Linked DNA regions of Homo sapiens: region 2 is linked to region 1. The links are contacts of gene promoters, found by promoter capture Hi-C in human tissues and cell types (Jung and others, 2019). All regions are on one chromosome and are shown on one strand. The core of a region is centred on a gene start or on the middle of the fragment in contact, and the rest is flanking DNA. Distances in the headings are between cores, read along the strand shown.

Region 1 (4,318 bases), core at 468-2,967:
AGCAGTGGAGGGTACTGCTGACTTTGGGGGAGTGGGGATGGGCTGGGGGGTTGGGAAAGGGAAGACTAAATGTGTGTGGTGGGAGGAGAGTTCCAGGAGGTGTGGGCGAGCGAGCCTCTAACCCAGGGCCGGCGGACCCCTCCCCCACGCGCGGCAGCGCTGCGAAGCCCCCTCCCCCTCCAGGTACCCAGCCACGCCGCCCCACCTCGTCCCTGCGGAGACCCCGGCTGCCTCCTCCCTGCCCCGCCGCACAGCCCACCTCGCGATCTGGGGCCCGCAGACACTCCCCCTCGGCTGACCCTGGCTGACCCCCAGCCTCAACCCCGCTCGGAGGGGGTGGCCGGTGGGATGAAAGAAAAGCTGGCTAGGGCCCCCCGCGCGTACGGCTGCCCCAGCCCCCCCGGGCCGGCTCCGGCCCCTCCCCCTCAGGGCTCGCGGGAGGGAGCGGGCACGCTCCGCCGGGGCGGCATGAATCAAACGCTCCGCGGCTAAGAATAGCTGGCACGCAGCTGGTACCGAGACGGGCTGAGGAATCGGCGAGGGGGGTGGTGGAGGACGCGAGAGAGGGGGTGCCCTGGGAGGCTGTGGGGGGACAGGGGGCGGCTGGCGTGGCCGAGAGCGGGGCCGGGGAGAATGAATGGAGGCGGAGGGAGGCGGGGAGGGGCGGGGAGAGAGAGCCGGAGCCGAGGCTGGGAAACTGGTGGGGGAGAACCCGGCCGGGGAGAGGGGCGGGGGGCACCGGGGAGCAGGAGTCGGGGGCGGGAGCCGAGGGGGCGCGCCGGCCGGCGGTGTAGGGACTGGAGACCTGGTGGGGACGCAGGGAGCTTGGACAGGGGTGGAAAGGGACTGGAGGAGCCTGGAAGGAGAAGCGGGAGCTGGAGGGGTCGAAAGGGGCGGAGGAGGCCCGGGCCTAGACCCTCGCTGGAGGGGAGTGGGGACCAGGGTGACCTGGCGGAGGGGCCCAGGTACGCCAGGGAGGGCGAGGCGGGGGAGTGGCCGGGCTGGGCGGGGAGGCGGGTACCAGGACCGAGCCCTTGGCCCCGGAGAGCCGGGAGGCGGGTTCGGGATAGGGGCTCTGCTGGCCGGGGGTGGGGGGCGCGCCCTCCCATCAAGGATGCGATCTGGGACGGGGCACCGGGGACCCGGGCGTAACCCAATTTGGTGTCGCCCAGGGCAACGCTCCCCACCTCACCCGTACCCCCAGCCGCACACCCAGGCCAGGAGCCCGGCGCCGGGCCAAGGACATCCGGGGCGCCCTCGCCCCCTCCCGCGGCCCCGGCCCCGCAGCTGCCCCAAACCCCCAGGTTCTCGACCCCCTTACCTGCCTGGCGGGGCTGCTGAGTCCCGGTCGGCGGCGCCCGCGGCCCCTCCCCCCTCCCCCCACCCCCCACCCCCCCGGAGACGGGGACCCTCAGGCCATGCCCCACCGCCCCGGAGGGCGAGCGGGCCCGGGGAGGGGGCGGGCGGGGACCGGGGGGGAGGGCGGGAGGGCCGAGGACCTCACCCCCCCCGCGGGCCGGGCCTGGCCATCCGCAGAGCGCCCCCCCTTCCGCCGCGGCCGCCGCGCCCCTCCTCGCCCGCCCCCGGCTCGGTCCGGCCGGCTCCGGGCGCCGCGTCTCCGCCTGCTCTTCCTCCTCCTCTTCCTCGGGCCGCCGCCGCCGCCGCCCGCTCCGCGCCTCCTCTGCCACCCTTCTCGCTCTCTCGCTCTCGCTGTCTCTCCCTCACCCTGTCTCTCTCCCTCCCTCTCTCCCTCCCTCCCCTCCCTCCGCCCTCTCCCCTCCCTCCGGGAGCCGGCGGAGGAGACATCGCCCCTCCCCGCGCCCCCAAACCTCGCCCATCCCCCACCACCGCCGGCTCCGCCCCCTACCCTTGCCCTCCCCCACCACTCCTCCCCACCTCCGAGTCCCCAAATCCTGACTCCGCCCCTGCTTGCTCCCATACCCCGAGGAAGGGGTCCTGCCCCCATAAGGTGCCCCCCCACACACACCTCAGGACCACCCCCTCCCAGAGAGCTCCCCGCCGCCCTACACAGAGTGGGGCACAATAAATATTTGTTGCCAGACTCTACACCCCCAAATTTAAGTGTGAAGGCTATAGATTCCCACCCTGTCCCCCCAAACACACACACACCCTTTCCATTTAAGCACTGGGTCAGGGCACACGTGGACATACCTGGGCCAGGCCACATTTCCCCAAGGCACAGGTGCATAGTCACCAGCTGTAACGGCACCTGCAGAGTCCCCACATACACACACTCTCCAGCGCATGCATGCCCAGACACAATGCACCTGGGGTACACAGCTACAAACACACCCAGCTACATGCAGTTGTCACACCCCTGTGCCCGGGCACACACGCAGCACATGCACACATTTGCCCACCACACACGCACGTGCGCGCGCACACACGCACACAGGCGTTCACCCCGGTATGCATGCCCAGATCTCTCAACACCAAAACGGAGTTACAGCACTGTAGAGACGTGTGCACGCCTTCCCATCACACCCACCCACCGTGCTGTCCATTGCACTGGCTCGCACTCACCCGTTTACATGCCCAACACCGTGCCATCCTTCCCCTCCAGGATAGTTACTGCTGACATTCCTGGAGCACTTTCTGTGTGCCAGGCTCAGGGACTTTCGCCATCCCCATTTTCCAGAGGGGGAAACCAAGGAACAGAGAGGCTAAGTAACTTGCCCAAGGTCATCCAGCTGTAAGGAGGTGGTAACAAGGATCAGGAACAGGTAGGCTGGCTCCAAAGTCCTCACTTGACAACTATGGTGCACTACTGGGCATATCCCCTCATAGTTGCATATCCTTATTCATCACACACAGACACACCCAACCGTCTCCTCAGAGTTTGCACATGTCTGTGTAGGCACGCATATGCAGCCAGCTGCAGGCAGACAGCTCATTCATGCCTGGGACGCACCCACAGGGACAGAGCAGATCCCACAGGGCAGCAGTGAGTGGTGAGTGTCCCCTTAGCCCAGGCTTCCTCATTCTCCCAGCTCCAACAGCACCTCCAGGGCCTGCAGGGGGCAGTTCTAGGCAGCTTCTGGGTTCCCCTCCAGCTGCAGGCTCTCCGGGGTACCCGAGTATGAGCTGGAGGAGGTGCCTGCTCAGCCTGGGGAGGCCTCTATCTTGATGCGTACCCACTAGCCCAGGTGGTGAGCAGCTGGGCCCGGGGAAAGCACAGCTGCCCATGTTGGCTCCAGCAGCCAGAGAGGCTGTGCACCCCTGCACACTTTACAAGGCCTTTCCCCACATACGCATTATTTCTTGAGGTCTGTAGCTCCTGGTGAGGGGCCCCAGGTTCCCGATGGGCACCTGAGAGGCCCAGGCTCTGAGGCAGGGAGCAGTCTGCCCAAGGTCACAGTGCCCTCGATGTACCAGGATTTCTTGGAAAACGGAAGGCTGGAGGCACTGATTTCCAAGGCCCCTCCTGGGGCTCCCGGCAGCCGAGGGCAGATGCCCTGCTCTTGGAGCCAGAAACCTTGGCTAGCTGCCGCCACACTGGTGACCTCCAGCAGGCTATGCTGTTTCAGAGCCTCGGTCTCCTCCTTTGAAGAGCAGGCCCAGTGATCCTTGGCTGGTGTGCCCCATGCTTGTTGGCACCACCAGCCAGGCCTGGGCGGGAAAAGCCCTGCATGACTCATGGGCCTGACATAGAGGGGCATGGCATGGCATTGTTCTTCCTTGCCTCCAAGCCTCTCTCCCACTGCCCTCACCACCTCTACCTACCCTGCCACCACCACCCTGGGAACTTGGGTGCCAGCAAACCAAAGAGGTGAAGCTTCCAGGCCTTTGACCCCACCAGGAACGGCTACCCTCTCGCCCACTCAACAGGTTGATTGAACACCTACTATGTGCTAGGTAGGCCTTGTGCTAGGAGATGCATCAGTGCATAAAAATCCCTGCTTTCATTGGCAGGGAACAGACATAAACAAACAAGATCATGCCAGTCTTGATTATACCAAAAAGATGAAATGGGGCATTTTAATAAAGTAACTTGCGGAATAGATAAGGTGGTTGGGGAAGACCTCCTGGAGCTGAGACCTCGATGATGAGAAGGAGCTGGGGAAAGAGGCTTCTAGAAGGAGGAAAGGGCTAGTGCAAATGCTCTGAGGTTGTAATCAGCTTAGTATTTGGGGATGAGCCAAGAGGCCAGGGAAGGTGGAGGCTGGGGGTGGGTGAAGGGAATGGGGGTGATGAGGCTGCAGAGGTGCAAAGGGTTCTTCCTTCCCAGCCCCCAGCATGGTAGGCTGCGCTGAGGACTGAGGCCCGGGCTTGGCTTCCCTCCTGCTTATGATGGGAA
Region 2 (4,318 bases), core at 1,549-4,048, 370 kb before region 1:
TGAGTTTTGTACCTTCAGATGATTTTTTTTTTTTTTTTTGAGACGGAGTCTTGCTCTGTCACCCAGGCTGGAGTGCAGTGGTGCGATCTCAGCTCACTGCAAGCTCCACCTCCCGGGTTCATGCCATTTTCCTGCCTCAGCCTCCCGAGTAGCTGGGACTACAGGCACCCACCACCACATCCGGCTAATTTTTTTGTATTTTTAGTAGAGACGGGGTTTCACCGTGTTAGCCAGGATGGTCTCGATCTCCTGACCTCGTGATCCACATGTCTCTGCCTTCCAAAGTGCTGGGATTACACACGTGAGCCACCGCGTCTGGCCCAGATGATTTTTTATCACTCATTAACATGCTTTTCTTTCTGACTGAAGTACTCCCTTTAGCATTTCTTGTAGGACAGATCCGGTGTTGATGAAATTCCTCAGCTTTGTTTGTTCTGGGAGAGTCTTTATTTCTCCTTCATGCTTGAAGAATATTTTCACTGGATATGCTATTCTAGTGTAGCAGGACAAGCTGTGGAGAAAACCCCACAGACACCGAGATAGTGAAGGAAGTAGCTTTTAATCAGCTGGAAGCATCAGCAGACTAGCATCTTAAAATTCAAGCTTGTTGAGTGCACAATTTCTGTCGCTTTTAAGGGTTCACAACACTAAAGATTTTACATGAAAGGACCGTGATTGATTGAGCAATCTAGGGGGTATGTGACAGGGGCTGCATGCACCAGTAATCAGAGCAAAGCAGAACAGAACGAGAAGTTTCACAATGTCTTTCCATACAATGTCTGGAATTTATGGATAATCGGTTGCTAGGTCATGGGTTGAATTTTAACTATCAGGCTAAGGTCAGGCAGGCCCAGGCCTGGTTTTGGGTCTGGTTTTGGGTCTGGTGCATGGCGCCGGGCTGCCTGCCTTTGGTTTCGCTTCCTTGTTTCTTCTTAAAACAGGTACTGAGTATGAAACAATATAGAACAATATGGGGGGGTCTCTTTCTCTCTTCTCTCATTTCCCCGCTTTGAGACTCTCACTCATGGTATTAGTGGAAGTTCTCACTTTCATTTTTACTACTTATGTCTTCCTGTGCAATAGATTGATAGTGATTCAAATAATATACTCGTGCTGAAGCATTCTGGTGAACTAAGGTAGTGATGAAGCTTTTTATCATTTGAAGAAGTATAGGTAGCAAACAAGGGAGTAGTAAGCGGATTCCTATTACTATTATAACTCCTATTATAAGAGTTTTAAGCCCTCCTATTGCTGGGAACCAATTTCCAAACATGGCCTCAGGATCAAATCCGTGCCACACTCGCACTGTACATGTGCCAGTTTTGTTATATCTTTAACTATGTCTTCAACTACTTGCCCTTGATCATCTATGTGGAGACAGCAATTAGTAAGGTTAAATTTTCCACAAACTCCTCCTTCAGCTGCTAGCAAGTAGTCGAGAGCTAGTCTATTTTGGTAGATAGCATTCCTCATCTGAGTCTCTTGCCGGGCAAGAACAGTCAAGGCTTGACCAGTTTAATTAGTAATAATTTCTAAAACAGCTTGCAACTGTATGATTCAGTTGAGCATGTAGATGGGGGTCCAATATCCCTATGAGCCATCTTATGCCCAAGTGGCGGGCCCATAGTATTGTATAATTCTTTCAGGGGGCCATCATCATCTTTCCAGTTACCTATGGCTATGCTTCGTTTTTCACGGGAAGCATAGACAGGGAATCCTAAGAGTTTGTTGTTTTTATGGGCAGCAGGAAGAAAGATGGTTTAATAGTGCCAATTACACAGCTACCTGTCTACTGATCAGATAGCTTAGCATAAGCTCTATGTCCACATATCCAGTATAACCCAGTAGGGGCAGTCCAGTCCCAGTGGAATTCTGGGTGGGCCTAAACAGTCTGCAATTTTGGAAATTTACGGAATGGATTTTTTTCCGTGTAATTGGAACTCCACCATGTAACTGTTTTTGTGGTACCATTATACAGTTTTTGTCCAAGACAACTAACCTGTCCTACAGGATGAGTGAATTCTTTTCCTTCTCTAGCTATGCAACATTGTCCAATAATTGAGGCTTTTAGAACCCAGAAATTGTCAGGGTGGTTCTTTTGGGCCGAGAATTCATCAGGAACTGGGTCTGTAGGAACTCATTCTCGGGCTTCCCATGGCCACTGATCTCCTGTTACAGTTGCTCCACAAACAAAACACGAAGTGACTTTTAGAGACTGGGCTACATGCTCGGCTAACTGCAAAAACAAATGTCTAGTTTTTCCTGGAATTTCAGGCACTGGCACATTTTGTTCATCATAGAAAGTGTGAAATACTGGCTCTGGAGAGCATGTTCGAACCTCTCCTTTTATTAAAATGTTTACCCTAGGGTCTAGTCTTTTTCCATCAATGCCTAGAGATAAGTATTTTCCTTTTTTCTATTTTGGGTCTGAGGGGCTTGTGATTACTAATTTTAAAGGGTTGCAGCTTCCACTCATGCAGGACAGGCTTCCTTTCCCTTTTTGGAGCAAAACAGGATCTTTTTCATTTTTTTTTTCCCAAGTAGCCTAAATGACACAAGACCAGTACCCACATTCTTTTCCACACAATCCTGATTCATGACAGATGTACTTATTTTCGGTCATGTAGTTTTTTCCTAATTAAAAGAGCCACATCCTGCTCCTAACTTATTGCTATTAATGACAGCACAGCGTCAAATCTTAAGATTATGCATTTGGGCACCCCTTTTTCTTCTGTTCTGGCTAATACTTTACTTGTATCATTTATGAGTCCCTGCCAGTGTTCAGTCCTTAATCTTATTTCAAAAACTGTGGAAATGGGAGGTTCAGAGGGGTCATAGCACACATCGGGCTGGTCACTTCCTGGATCACAGACTTTGTACTGAGTGTTATTATACAAACATGTTCCTTTTGGAATTCCTAGGCCTTCATAATAACTATAGAACAAAAAGATTGTCTTAACTTGTTGTCCTACCTCAGTGACCTGAGGTATGCACTGAAAGCAGTCCTCTGTGTGGGAAGAAGCAGTGGAAGCTTTTACCACACAAGTCCGTGTTATAAGGAAAGTAAGTCCCACGACGATTTTCCTCATGCTTCGGCCGCGAATAGGCCAGTCAGCTTCCGGGTGTGACTGGAGCAGGGCTTGTCGTCCTCCTCAGGGTTACTTTGCAGGGATTGTCTAGGCCTGGTTTGGCCTCCCAGGTTCCAGTGGCTGCAGGCTTTCCGCAGCTGTGGTGAATCCCGGCCGGAATTCCTTCTACCTTCACAGCCGTGGGAGTGGTCAGGATAACGGTCTGGGGTCCCTTCCACTATGGCCCTAAGGGAGCTACGTTCCAGTCCTTGATCCACACGCGGTCACCTGGAGAAAAAGGGTGAACTGGGGAGAATAAGCTGACCGGGCACCTCATTTACCCAAGTTGAGATTGTCTCGGTAATTTTCCCCAAGGCCTGTAGCTGTCGCTGCAATTCAATTTCACCCAACTCTTGGGGAGTACCCAGAAGCCCTCGCGGCATAGGAGGAGGCCTATGATATAATATTTCATAAGGGGAGTGTCCTGTTTTCTTAGAGGGGGTGCACCTGTTTTAAACAATACCATAGGAAGGGCCTGTATCCATTTTAATCTTGTCTCTTGACATACTTTCCTTAAACTATTTTTGATAGTCCGACTCATTCGCTCCACCTTCCCAGAACTCTGAGGTCGGCAGGCAGCATGTAGACTTGTTTGTACCTGTCCTTCTTGGGAAGGCTTTCCAGGTATTCAAAAGGACTTGAGGATTGTGATCTAAGCCATATCTGTATCAGGGGGCCTCCCAAGCCTATTAATGCTGTGGTTTTTGTTTGTTTTGTTTTTTTGAGACAGAGTCTCACTCTGTCACCCAGGCTGGAGTGCAGTGTCATGATCTCAGCTCACGGCAACCTCTGCCTCTCAGGTTCAAGCGATTCTCATGCCTCAGCCTCCCAAGCAGCTGGGATTACAGCTGTGTGCCACCACGCCTGGCTAATCTTTGTGATTTTAGCAGAGACTAGGTTTCATCATGTTGGCCAGGCTGGTCTCAAACTCTGGGCCTCAAGTGATCCATTCACCTCAGCCTCCCAGAGTGTTGGGATTACAGGCGTGAGCCACCACACCCGGTCTGCTACGGTTCTTGCAGACTCATAGAGGTACTGCCTTAGTGGTCTTGGATAACATCCAGAAGAATTATCTGGATTACCAGGCAGAGGCTCTTGTTCTCTTCTTTTACTTTCTCCCAAACAAAGGGAGCTGAGCCACCTGGAGGTGGGGATAGGGTGACACAAGCACCACTGTGGCCAGTAGCACT

What was found. The method cuts DNA at HindIII sites, captures the fragments that hold promoters and counts their contacts. A contact is called where the count stands out against the background at its distance.
Region 2: a contact is called between a fragment that was not itself captured here and the fragment with the promoter of SHANK1 in region 1, in 1 of the 25 tissues and cell types used here (dorsolateral prefrontal cortex).

Annotation. Positions count from the first base shown.
Region 1 is chr19:50,718,085-50,722,402 of GRCh38, forward strand. SHANK1 (SH3 and multiple ankyrin repeat domains 1) reads right to left here and starts at 1,718. Exons shown (of 24, transcript NM_016148.5): 1 at 1,322-1,718. The HindIII fragment of the contact is 4,964 bases long and covers 991-4,318 here.
Region 2 is chr19:50,346,480-50,350,797 of GRCh38, forward strand. All of the region lies in intron 2 of LOC105372437 (a long non-coding RNA gene), which reads left to right. Among named protein-coding and RNA genes, the nearest start is that of NAPSA, 17 kb to the right of the region's middle. RefSeq lists an enhancer at 842-991. The HindIII fragment of the contact is 3,847 bases long and covers 876-4,318 here.